Regions from separate parts of the Homo sapiens genome. Here region 1 is linked to region 2. The links are contacts of gene promoters, found by promoter capture Hi-C in human tissues and cell types (Jung and others, 2019). All regions are on one chromosome and are shown on one strand. Each heading gives the region's core, a stretch centred on a gene start or on the middle of the fragment in contact. The rest is flanking DNA. Distances are from core to core; before and after follow the strand shown. Region 1 overlaps LOC105369673 (a long non-coding RNA gene). Region 2 holds the start of PTPRO (protein tyrosine phosphatase receptor type O).

Region 1 (6,870 bases), core at 1,899-4,398, 43 kb after region 2:
ATATACCTAATGCTAGATGACGAGTTAGTGGGTGCAGCGCACCAGCATGGCACATGTATACATATGTAACTAACCTGCACAATGTGCACATGTACCCTAAAACTTAAAGTATAATAAAAAAAAAACAAAAAAAAAACAGGTAGGTTCTCACTCTTTGTTAAAAAAAACTCACCTTTACCTTGAAGGAATAGATTATATATTTATTTTGAGAAATATATCTTCTGGGTAGCACATTACTGAAAATCACTAGTTCTCCCTGAACAGGTCAGCAAATTGGGCTTAATGCAGCTTGAAACATCACTGGAAAAAAATTGTAAATGTTTGTGTGCGTTCTCTGGATGCTCAGATCCCAAACGTCTCACTAATCATGATGGCTCCACATTATCATTTGCAAACATTTCAAAGCAGCAAACACACCTAGCATGAGATTCAAACAGCCTGGATAATTTCAAATCATTTTGGCTTACTTCCTGTCTTATCTAATTACATCCTCATTGTTTTCAACCTTTTGATGTGCTTATAAAGAGATCAAATTAGAAATGGAAGTTTCTGCCAATTTTTCTTTGTCTGTGAATTATTGGTATTATGTTTAGTCCATGTTTTTTGCAAGATGGCATGAAGTCTATGGCATGAAGCCAGCACTGACCCCTCCTCTATACTTAGAATTTCTGCCTTTCTCCCAGCATGCCTTGGTGACCATATGTGACACTTGCTTCTTTTCCATATGAATACATTAGGACACCAGTATAAATCCATATATGATGTGTTAGAAAAGCTTACTTTCTTATTTTTTAAATTTAAAATATATAATTAAAAGTTCTTATATTTTGGTCCACATTCCACCATGGAGAGAGGATTGGCTTGGCTTTAAGGTATAATGTCTCTTGTTGATACACTCAGCTAAATTAGAGAGCTACAAGAAAGGACAGAATTAGACTCCTAAGGCTATAGCTATTGAGTAATGGAAGCAGACAGATCACTCAGGCAACTACTGTCACAATAACGAGCCTTTAAGAAGAAAACCTTCTGAGAATGAAGGGACATATAGGGATTGCACTTAAAAAAATTAAACTCATGTAACTACTACTGGAATATATAACCAAATCTCTTGTAAAAGAAAACTCCTTGCCAGTTAAAGAATAAGACCAAATTGATGTACTTTCCTGCATCAGAGAAATCCTATACCCAGTACCAGGAAATTCTATGCACAGATATATTAATCGATACATTAATGGAGCTGAAGTTCTGCTGTCAGCAGATCTTGTCATTCAATGAAGCATGTCCAGGTGGATAAAAACATGAAGAATTACTTTCTAAAGAACAGGTTTTAGTTTTGGAAAGAATTTTATGACAGTTAAGTAGGTTTTTTTAATACCAAGCTTGCACTCATTTCCCTGATTTAGAGGTGCAATGTTTCTGTAGTGTCTAATTTTAAACTTGTCCTGTCAGGTTTGAAATGTATGATTTTGGCAACCTTTGCAACTGTGCAAAGCATGTATTTCAAGATACTGTGGTCTTTAGGCTTCTACTTCCTCAGTACTAGATTGTTCCCAAAAGAATGTATGAAGGATGAATGGATCAGAAAAGACATTACGCTGGAGATGAGAATCAAAATCCTGACTCTAAAGTATTTTGTTGACAGTTGGCTTTTTACCTTCCACATTGAAATACTCTTTGTGAGGGTCATGCGGTTTAACTCATTGCTACAACTTGGAGGAAAATGTGCAATGTCAAGCATTCCTGTATGGTCCAAAACCTGCCATAATGGCTGCCAATGGCTCTTCCTTTTCTGAAAGGAGTATCTGAGTTTCATGATGTCAGATAATCATCCTTGCAATAGGAAATTCAAGTTTCTGGAAGCTCCTCTTTCCTTGCAAGTCACTGTCAATTCAATCATTGAGTAAAGTGTTCCTGTGTGACAGGAGCAGATTAGCAGATGATCCCAGAAAAATCTAAGCACTGAAGATAGAATGCTAAGGATTTTTTAATTATTTCTTTATTTTAAAAAATTGATACTTCTTTCCTCTTTTTACGTCATGTTTCACTCATCCCCCTTAGAACTATTGGCAAGATCATGGGCTAAGAGAAAATTTAAAAGTATTTATTGAATTTAGAAACATCAGCAAGAATTTATTCTACCTTCAATATGAGATAGCTCTGTAGCAGTACTATAAAGTAGAATAACAGATTTTACAAACCATGCTTTTCATTTTATGATGTTTTTAAAGATGTGGTTCATGTACATATAATTCATGGTGAAAGATGGAATAATTTTAAGTTATACATAGATTAATGCCCATATGTAAATGTATATACACACATTATTTCACTGTGTAATTGGTAAATCTCATTAGTGCCTCAAAATCAGGGTTGCAGAATTATGATTTTTTTAGGGTAAGGCTAGTTTTTTGAAAAAGGAGTTAGTTTGAAAACTACTTACAAACAACTGTTAGGTAAATAGCTGTATAAGCAATATGCAAATATGGGAAAATAATGTAGGCAGTGTGTATGAATAGCTGAGATTGGGGAAACTGCATTGTATTGCTCTGGTGGCGTGTGTTTACTATAAGGTCTTTGCTGACAAGGATTTTACATGCTGTTTTAGGCCAGGGTTCTGAGAAGCAGAGCCTGAGGCAGGGATTTTTGTCCAGGTGAATTACTGAGGGAACACTTTCAGGACAAAGCTATAGGGGAGGAAGGGAAGCAAGATAGGGCAAGATAAGCTAGGTAAATCAAGGTTTTAGGAGAATATTAGCTTCAGACTGATCCCCCAAGGAATTTTGATGTTTAAATGCAATAAAAAGTTTGCGTTGCCCATGGGTGAGGTGGCTGAACTGTTGTAACCTCACTTCAGTCTGCCACAGGCCATAGGACACTTGTGGGATTAGTACAATTTTTCCAGTCATGTCCTGGTAAGGTGGCAATCCTCTGGAACAGTCACAGCGACTGGTTGATGAGTGCACTGGCCTGGTAAGGGAATCTGGACAGGACACCAGGAGTGTCTGCAATGCAATTTTAGGAGAAAAAAAATACTCAAAAGAATAGTAAACACCCCAAATACACTGAGATCGCCAACTGTTAGCTCTTAATTCAGGAGGACTTTGGAGCCAACTAGCAACAATGATATGTCATTTGTGGGAATTCCTGGCAGCAATCCTTAGGGTCATCTTAACCCTCTCCATGATGTTTTCACGTTTTCTATGCCAGCCTTCCTGGGCCTGATGCATCAGGTGACATTCACTGTGTAGTAACCTGCTGGAGGTCGGAGACTGGCCTTATCTGATGGATACCTGCCCTGGGTGTTCCATGTATGTGGTCCTACTAGCTTTATGCACTCTCAATTCCATAGAGCCATCACAAAAAAGAAATATTTCCTCTTCCTTAGATAGTATATCAGACAGAGATTAAATGTACATAATCAGTTAGTTGTGGCAGGCACTTAGAGGAGAGAAAGATTAGGTTTCAATTTGTGGGAGACATGGCTTCCGGCAATGGCTGGCCCACTACAGGGCATGCCAATTCATTGCAGTTGACCACATATTTCCGCCTAATATCTTGTGAACACAAACCGGATGCATCTGATTAAGTGCTCCCAGCTCTGGCTGTAATAAGTGGCTCGCTGGCAGTGTGCCTCCTTCCAGCTATTCTGGGAGCTGGGCTTGGAGCTGCTGAGATTTGGCATGCGCACCTCAGAGGCTTCCTCAGCTGGGCCAGGTGCCTGGCAGCACTCCTCTTCATTATTTTATTCTGTCTCCTTGTAGCTTCTCCCCACAACCCCACTTTTCCCTCTAAGCCATGCCTTGCTCAGCAGACCTTGCCTCGCTTTGTTCCCCATGGACTCTACATATCTTCTTTTGGCCTGGCTGCCTGATTTGGAGCAGTGCAGAGAGCCCCAAGCCAGGATCAGCTGGAGCGCCACTTGCAGTGAGCACGTTTATTAAATTTGGTCAACGACAGCCAGTTCAGGTCCCTGGCAAGCAAGCCTGTACAAAGTATTTCCTGTTGGAGATGATGATAGATGGTTTAGTGATTAACAACACAGACTCTAGAGCCAGACTCACGCATTTTGGCAATGTCACTTATTGGCTATGTTGCCTTGAGCAATTTACTGACTTTCCCATGACTCAGAAAGATCATCTATAAAATGGGAATAATAATAGTATCTCCTTCATAGGGTTGCTATGAGGATTAAATGAGTTGTTGCATATAAATGAGTATGAATAGGTCCTGGCACATAGAAAAATGCTGATGAAATATTAGCAACTTTTATTAGCATTATTTATATAGCTAATGTAATTTTTATTATTTAAGTATCTCACTTCTTCTAAGCAACTGAAGGTCTCTAATATTGTAGCTGAGGAATTCTCATTATAACTCTGTGTTATTATGTTCTATCTTGTCAATAACAAAATTGCAGCACAAAGAAATTGACCTTGTCTCACATTAAAGTACTAATTTTATTCAGTAATTTAAAAAAATGAGTTTGACTTATTTCTAATAAGTTGGAAAGATACACAAAATATATAATTGAGGAGCAACTGAAAATCAGAAAACAATATGCATGATATGATCATATGATTCCATTTCATGTTAAAAACATTTCTATATGTAATAATGTATGCGGTTATAGTCATATAGACATTATAATGTGGAGAAAATTATTAATCTTTATGATAACTGGCACAGAAATTATTTTTAGGAAGGGATCATCTTTGCTGAAAAGAAGCTTTGAAAAGACCCTTGTACATCAGAAAAGTGCCTCAGCCTGAGGGCTGAAGTTCAAGGGGAAGGAGGCAGAGGCTCAGTATTATAAAGGAGGGCAGTGGGCAGGTTCAAGGCTCGGTGCAGTGTTAGGGAAGGTCAAAGAGAAGCAAATTCCCAACTGGTGGTGGTGGTGAAGGAAGACTTAGAAAAGAATTGCCATAGGGTGAAGAAGACTTCAGCAAATTCTGCATCACTCCTAATGCTCTGTGGAGTGAATTTCCTTTGTGTAGAGTGTAGAAAAATGCTACCATCAGCTTCCAGGTTGGAAAGGGGAAAAGATGGGGTTCATCTGGAGATGGCCAGCATCTGAGTTACAGGTACAGGTACATGGACATGCATATATGAGGATATACACACACAGAGGCACAGACACACACACACATACACAGACACAGACACACACACACGGACACACACACACACGCATCAGTCAAAACTAGGAGACCACAACCCAGCCTGCTGTGTGGTTACATGAACAGGAGTATGGGATTGTACTGTGTAAAGAGGGTTCATAGTTTAAACTCTCTGTCTCTCTCTCTTTCTCCTTATCATGAGGAGCATGTATATATGTTTATATAAAAAGGCAAACAGTGTGTTTCCATGCCTCTTGGTGGAATGCAGCATAGGGCCTCTATCAATCTAGCTCAGGATTTCTGAGGCCAGGAATCCATCACCGTTGCCTTTACTGCAGGTATGAGTGCCGGGGAGGAGCTGGGCTTCTGGGATCAAAGTGTGTCTGTTTAGCTATTCAGCACGGAGGGCCCTGCTCTCCGTATATTTTTTGCTAACTTTCTTAAATGGTCCAACAGGGAAGAAGAACAACTGACATTATATAATGAACAATTCTATTCCAGGCACACTCCCTTATGTTTTCACCTTTATCATCCTTATTAGCTCCCCTAGTTAGTTATTGCAGGATCCATTTTACAGATGAAGGAATTGAAGCTTAGAAAGATTTAGCTAATCGCTCAAGGTCATACAACGAGCCAGTCCTGAAATCTCTGATGAAACTCAAGTACTTTTTGTTGTTGTTTCTAATTCCAGTCCCAACTTCCTCCCACCAAATGGGGTCCCAACCTTCCTACGAATAAATGTTCAACCCCCAACTCCCCAGGAGCACCCAGTTTCTAACTTTTTATCTGATCTCATGGCCCCCTATTACTCCTTGTTGATAACCCCTGCAGGGCGCCCTCTTCATTCTTCACATGGTTTGTAATTCTGCCAATTCCTTTTCCAATCGCTCTGTAGTTTTCTTTTGTTTTAGTCTAGTTATCATATGGAATTTTTCTTTTTCTCAGTCTTTTCAAGAAATGTTCTAATGGACTGGCTCTTTCAGGGTAGAATATTTTTTCCCCTTTTTCCATTCCTTGAGACACAATTGCTTAATAAATACCGGATGGACAAATGAATGAACGAATGAATGGATATGTTAGAGCTGTATCACAGTCTGGGGTTTTCTGACAGGCTGTACCCTACTGGACACTTCTTTGTCCCTCTTTTTTTTTTTTTAACTCAAAGTGAAAACATTCTCTTTTCCCCCACAACCTTTTCCTTTATTTCCACCTTCAAAGTTTGCTTCCCTTCCTTTCTCCGCACGTGGTCCTGTGGAACTCCCAGAAGCTGTGTGTCCACAGTAGCAGCAAGACTTGCTCCTTCTGAGAAAGGCTTAGCAAAGGAAAACAGAGTCCAGGTGGTTCCCAGGCCTCATCCAGTGAGATAGATGAGAGGCCCATTAACAAAACTAGAACCTTTTCCATAGCTTTAGCATTTGTGGATGCCAGTTATATTATGTGAATCGCTGACTCTTGGTATTTTAAAACTATAAAACATAAGTCCTTGAACCATATTCGTATTTCATTTATGAGAGTATGAAGTCTCTTGAGAAGAGAGTGTCACGCTTAAATCACTACCATCCATTAATCCTGATGGGAAGAGGAGGCCATTATCTGTGGGAATGTGCCGAAATCCTGCCATCTTGTGGCCAACTGAAATATGACATTTGTTAGTTTTTAAAATTCTGACACTGAGCGAAGAACCGCCAAGTTGCCAGGAATTCCTTGCTTTAGAATCAGTCTTCTTCATGCACTGGGGAAAAACTGACCTTCC
Region 2 (6,808 bases), core at 3,105-5,604:
TGCACTGGGATATGTTTCTGAAAATGCAACATCACTGAAACTGTGTACGGAGAGGCATTAAATTAGGGGAAAATGAAAACTTGTGGTCATTGTTGTTAAGCCTTCTATTGTGCCACACTGCTACCAATTACAATGTTTTACTTAAGTGCATCAACTGTATCTGACATCAAACATTCTTTTACAACCCCTCAAGTTAGAATTATATTTATAAGGTTCAGGAGTAAATCTGCTTATACGTTTAAATACCTTTAAGTTGGATATTTAGATAGTAGAAATAGTGTTACATTTTAAAATAAAGTACAACTCATATTGTTTTTAATCAGTTATCCACATAAATGTGCATTTTCTTTTGGGCCAAAATGAGGCAGAGGTGTAATGTGAATTTTTCATTCCTTCACACAACGATAGTCTCTCACAAAACAAAGAACAAAAGGAAACATATGTTCACAGTGGGAAGGATTATTACTCGATCATCTGTAGAAGCATGGCCCAGGGAGCCTTTGCCAACCTACTGGGGATGTCACATGTAAAAAGGTTTCTCCAAAAGGTTGGCAATATGATTTATTAAAGGAGTCAGATGACATGGGAGTTAAGGGCAGCAAACTTCATTGTGATGGAAAGGATCTAAGCTGCTCCAGCAAAATGAAAGGATTATGGTTCACCTGCCAACACTGTGCAATTTATGGATGAAACCTCAACCACGAAAAGTGAAACTTCTTTGTGTGTGTGTATGGGGTTGCGAGGGGAGACATAGGAAAGGAAAGGCAGACAGACCGTGGAAAACAGATATTTCCCCTGGATAAGAGTAGAATGGCCAGTATCATAACACTCATGTATTATAGAATTAAATATAAACCTGTTTCAGAAAGTACAATATTAAGACCCTTTTTAAATTTGATATTCTTTGATGATATCTCTGGTAAAAGCAGAAATAGAAAGAAATAGAGAGAAGGGGTTAAAAAAGAAGGACACACGCCAAGCACTTGAGTTTAGGAATATATTCCAGCTGACTACTAAAAAGCAACATTTCAGGGAAGGCCAACTTCAAATTCCTATGATGTCATATTCCACGATTTGCACCTTAGTAGACAAAGTACTTATACTGAGTAAACTGATACAGGAAGACATTTTCTAGGAGGGCTTTAGTAAAGATAGGACAAGTGTAGGAAGTTACATTTCTTTCACTGGGAATTATGGGAAGACACACAACAGCGAGGCTCGCCAGATAAATACCTCACTTGCATTCATCCATAGAAGACTTTGAAATTAGTAGCCTTCAATATAATAACAGAGTTCCATTTTTTCTTCTATTTTATATACACCATCAATATTGATATAAAAATAAAAATTTTCATAACCAACATTGTGTTTAGGCAAGATAAATTATGCAGATATTAGCTTCATAATGTGCAGTGAATGATTTAGACAGTCTGAGATGCCCGATTATATGTGCTCATCACTGCTCCATGGATAAGGAACGATGGCACAAAGACCTTCTTGGCCAGTCACATTTAGTCTCCCTCAATGGAACTGATTATAGCCATTCATACACATTCAAACTTTCCTACTTTTCCACCACTGATATCCAGCTGCTTATTTTTGAGTTGTGGAAAATGTAAAGCTGTAAATTAAGCCTCATACTTGAATTTCTCTGTCTTATTTTCCTTCAGAATTTTCACTCTTATATAAAGGATACACATATGGAGTAGTGAAAAATGTATTAACTATAGTGAAAACTATGGAAATTATTTTGGCAAGGGAGAGTTGAGAGAATGTTTCATTTCTGACTCGGCACACGTGGAACATTTTGGATTTTATTATTGAGATACAGTTAGCAGTTTGGTATTTAATAATGAATTTTTTCTCATCCTCCAGTCACAACCTGCTTGAGTAGATCTGTTTTACTGGCACTTAATCAGGACCTTTAATTCAAAAATATCTCCAAATTATAAAGAGATTATACCATGTGCCCAACGCACCATGTAATATACTATCCTCTAAATGTAAGATATTACACTGTGTGCCCAATTTACCATTTTTTTTGAACAACTCTTGTCAACTGCAGCAAAATAGGATTAAATGAAATAACGTATGTAAAATGCCTAAAAAACCAGCACATAGAAGGTATTTAATATATACAGTTTTTTCTTCTTTCCTCTGATATAGTTTATATTCAGGTGACAAAAATATTACATTCACATAAAATAAAGGAAAATGATTTTTCTTACAAAATTATGTGTCCCACTACAATAATTATTATTTAAATGGCAAACTTTGCCAATGTATTTACTATGGAAGCAGTTTGCCATAATTTACATTTACCTGCAATGTTCAGGAATATACCTATTATGTGAAGCAGGCTGGACCTCTATGACAATCACTAACATTTTCATTACACCATCACTAACTGCATTTTCTCATTCCAATATCGAGTTTTAAGTCAAACAATGGCCACATTTATTTTATTTTAATTGCAAAACCTTACCCCCACTCCCAACCAAGTCATTCTCTTATTTCTGGAATTATCTCATTATGAAGAACTCACGCAAAAACCTGCAGTTGTGCTAAACGTTAGGTTTGGATCAGATGTCATACATATAACTCTTAGCTGTTGCTCGTAAAATGCATAGTGACTTGGTTTCTAATTTTTGGTTCATGACAATTATTGCATAGGTAAAATAGTTGTGACAGTTTGATAAATAGTTAGAAAACGACTAATAGACAACCTAATAAGTCTAATGCATTTATGATGTGTATGAAAGAACAACCTCCTACAGTAAAAACATATAACTGAGCTTATTATTTACCATACTTTAAAATTAATGATTATTGATAATTTAAGAAAAAATGTTAAAACATATTAAATATATTTTAAGGTCTTACTTAGGCATTCTGTTGCTGTTTCTCCCTGAATTTTTTTTATATTTTTCATTAAGATAAATGAAAATATGGAGTATTTAAAAGTAATGCTGTTCTTAATCCATTGGTCCTGTTCCATTATATTCTTTTTAGGCATTCATAATTAATGGTGCATATAAGCAAGAAGTGACTCTATAATAAGAAAACCTTTGGATCCATTAACCTGGCATCCATTTCTAGGGAAGGTATCACTGTGGTCCTGAAAGGATAGCTCCAAGTCACCTGTCGACATTCTTGAGTTTGCTTTGCGGAGAGAGGAAAAGACTAACAACAGAACTAAAGTAGATCCACTGAAGACATGAGTGATAGACAATCACTTCAGAACTTCACATCGCCGTCCAAGAAAACATCTAGCTGACATTTCTTCAAAAAAATTTATGTACAGTATAGTTGTCAAACTGATTTTTCAAAAGCAACTCCTTTGCTTTTCATTTTTCTCAAAGTAAAACCTCAGGGTAGCACATTCCAAAGAAGATACGAAAAAGTTTATTATTATATATTTTTCCACCATTAAATCTAGGGGTAATATCATCTGTAAATATAGTGGAGAAAGTCTGGAGACTTTTTAAAAGGAATTGTAAAGATGTTGATAGGAGTTGGGGAGAGGAATCCTTACCAAGCTCTCTACCTGACACTCCTTATTCAAAGAAAATTCTGCCCTAACGTAGCCCTGGCAGTCCATTTGTGTCCAGGGAGCTCAGTCCCCCTCCACTCTCCAGTGTATAATTCCAGCAGTAAGGAAAATTAAGACAAAGCATTCTGTGCGAGGGAGGGCGGAAAGGTTAAGCAGCGTTGGGGTGCAGTGGAAACCAGAAAAGAAAGTGACCTCATTTTGCCTGAGAAAGCACGATCCAACAAGCCCACCTTTGATGTGGATTTCAGCAGCGATAAAAGAGCACAAAGGGCGAAAGCCGGAGGGAGCAAACTTCCCTTATTCTTCCCCCCGCCCCCTACCTCTCAAGACCACCAGGAACACGCACACGCGAGGACAACAAAGCGTGCGCCCAGGCTGCACGGCAGGCGCTTCCCGCGGCTGGGCCATCGTGCCCTGGGGCGCGCCGCTCCCAACGGCAGAGCGAGGGCGCCGGAGCGCGGCTGCCGCCCGGACCGCTGGGAAAAAGGGGTGGAGGAGCTCCCCTACCTTGAACAGCACAAAGAGCCAGAGCAGAGGCAGGAGGCGGCGGGCGCCGTGTATCCCCGTGGGCAGGTGCCCCATCGCTGCGCGGACGGGGACTCGGGGGCACGGCTGCGCTAGCGGACTCCCCCGGCGGCGGCTCACAATGGCGAACTGGGGCTGCAGCCTCAGACCCTGGGCGCCGAGGTTGCTCCTGGCGAGCGCATGCTGCCTTTCCAGTCCCCCTGCGCCTGCTCCCTTTCCTCCTCTGCGCCCGGGGTCCTCCAAGAACGTGCCAGGCGCTGCTGTTCTTTAATGACTAAGGATGGAGAGGGTGGGGATTGGAGTGGGCGAGGCTCTGCCGCCGCCACCACCGCGGCTGCCAGAGGAGGCGCGGGGTCTGTGTGGTGAGCGAGAGGCGGGGACCCCGCGCCCAGCCCGCCGTAGTCCTCTGGCAGCAGGGACACTCTCACTCTGGCTGCCGACCCATAAAATGACAGCAGCCTCCCAACCCTCCACCAGGATCGGCCCGCTGCTTGCTACTGCTGGACAGCCCCCATTGCAGACTCCGCCTCAACCCCTCCCTCAATCTCTGGGTCTCAGGAGTTCTGAGGGGTTTCCCTGACCTCTCTTGAGCAATCCAGGCGCCAGATCCCAGTTCCCTCTCAATCTTCCTACATCTGTACTCAATTGCAGTTATAAAGGATCAATAACAGTTGGGTAGTTGTGACTGTAGAAATAGTGTGTAGTGTGAGTGTGTGAGTGTGTGTGATAGGAAGGGTATTTTCTCTCCTTCCCCACTGCTTCCATTATCTCCATCCCATTTCAACACTCTCACCGTCTCCGTCCCACACTCACCCAGGAACAAATAGCACAATTATGCACCTTTTCCATTTGAAATCCGCAGTTCTTGTACATTTCAGATTCTCTTTTGATACCAAAGTGTGTCGGGTCACCTGAAGCTGAATATAGAAGGGGGAAAAATCACAGTATTTTACATGTATGACCCTTGAACAACACGGGTTTGAACTGTTGGGTCCAGTTATATGCAGATTTTCTTCCACCTTTGCCAGCCTTGAGACAGCAAGACCAAACCCTCTTCCTCCTCCTCTGCCTGCTCAGCCTGAAAAGGATGACGTTAAAGACTTTTATGATAATTCACTTCCACTCAATGAATATAAATGTATTTTCTCCTCTTTATGGTTTTCTTAATAATATTTTCTGTTCTCTAGCGTACTTTATTGTAAGAATACAGTATACAATACATACAACACAAAATGTGTGTTAATCAACTGTTTATTATGTTATCAGTAAGGTTTCCGGTCAAGAGTAGGCTATTAGTAGTTAAGGTTTTGATGAGTTCAAAGTTATATGTGGATTTTCAACTACGTGATTCTCTGTGTTGTCCAAGTGTCAACGGTATGTACAGTTATATTTTTAAACAATTATCTGTGAATAATTTTACTGGGATGTTTTAGAATCACAAGCAACGACTTTCAAGCTGTGGGTCCCCAATCTACTACTTGTCTCCTTTTTTGTTATGTGTATTTTTTTAAAGATAAGTCTGTCGAAATCAACTCTGGTATGCACTGTTCAGATAGAAATCATTTCTTATTGTCATGTAAATTACCCTTGCTGTGCCCTGTCAGTATTGGAACTTATTTATACCTGAGACATGCTTGGGCAACAGGAGACAGGAAAGGCCACCCTGGTCATGAATGTAGGTGTTCAGGCATAGACTTTGTCAGTCACACAGCTAGGGAGTGGTGGCCTGAGAAAAGGATCCAGAGCTGTGTTTACTCAGCTTTTGCTGCATGAGCAATGGCCAAACACTAATCATTTGGTTGTTGTTTGTATGTGTCTTAAGGAAGCTTTAGATTGAATATGTTTACATAAGTGTGAATATGTATATATACACATGTGTACATGTACACATATGTGTACATGTACATATGTGTACACACATGTGTGTGCATGTACATATGTGTACACATATGTGTGTGCATGTACATATGTGTGTACACATATGTGTATGTGTGTACATAGATACATATGTGTATGCATACGTATATGTATATGTACGCATATGTATATGCATGGTACATATATGTATATATGTACCAAATTTCATATGCATGAAATATGTACCAAAATTCATATGCATGAAAATATAGAATGATGGTCTGAATTTTTGTGAGAATATTATCCTTGGTGTCTTCTTTTAGAAGCTTCTTTTGTTTTCACATTCCCATCACATGCTCTCTTCAGGTCCCTCATGTCCACTCATCATTGGTTTGGACATTTTCTTTCTTTTGAGAAAATGTTAACTGCTCCTCCCTCCCTCTGGGTTAGACTTACGGGCTATCTGAACATTTAATCCTTGGGATTGCACTTATAGGAACTTTGGTTTAATATGTTTTCTTTTTATTTTGACGCTCCTGAAGCAGCATTTTATTCCCACTCGCCCTCAGAAGTGGCTGTAAAGTGATCTAATCTCTAGAACATAAGATATATATAGGCCAAGGGCAACAATCACACTCACAGGATGCCAACAATTTCTCTTTGGAGTAGCATTTAATTTTAAAATGTGTCTGTGAATTATGGGTCTGTATGATGATATTCATTTGTGTGTATGCATATGTCTGTGTGTATACATGGATATAGCCTTGCCTGATGTGCGTAGGGCGTTTAAAGCAGTTCTGATCATAAATTAATCTTGTAAATGCTAAAAGAACTTTCACAATGAGGCTCCCTTTTAAATAATCATATTCTGCT

What was found. The method cuts DNA at HindIII sites, captures the fragments that hold promoters and counts their contacts. A contact is called where the count stands out against the background at its distance.
Region 1: a fragment that was not itself captured here is called in contact with the fragment with the promoter of PTPRO in region 2 in 1 of the 25 tissues and cell types used here (H1 embryonic stem cells).

The regions. Positions count from the first base shown.
Region 1 is chr12:15,276,142-15,283,011 of GRCh38, reverse strand. All of the region lies in intron 2 of LOC105369673 (a long non-coding RNA gene), which reads left to right. Among named protein-coding and RNA genes, the nearest start is that of PTPRO, 43 kb to the left of the region's middle. The HindIII fragment of the contact is 4,141 bases long and covers 1,078-5,218 here.
Region 2 is chr12:15,320,054-15,326,861 of GRCh38, reverse strand. It overlaps PTPRO (protein tyrosine phosphatase receptor type O), which reads right to left and starts at 4,354. Exons shown (of 27, transcript NM_030667.3): 1 at 4,061-4,354. The coding sequence starts at 4,135. The region is part of intron 2 of LOC105369673 (a long non-coding RNA gene); the gene reads left to right. The HindIII fragment of the contact is 7,625 bases long and covers 1-6,083 here.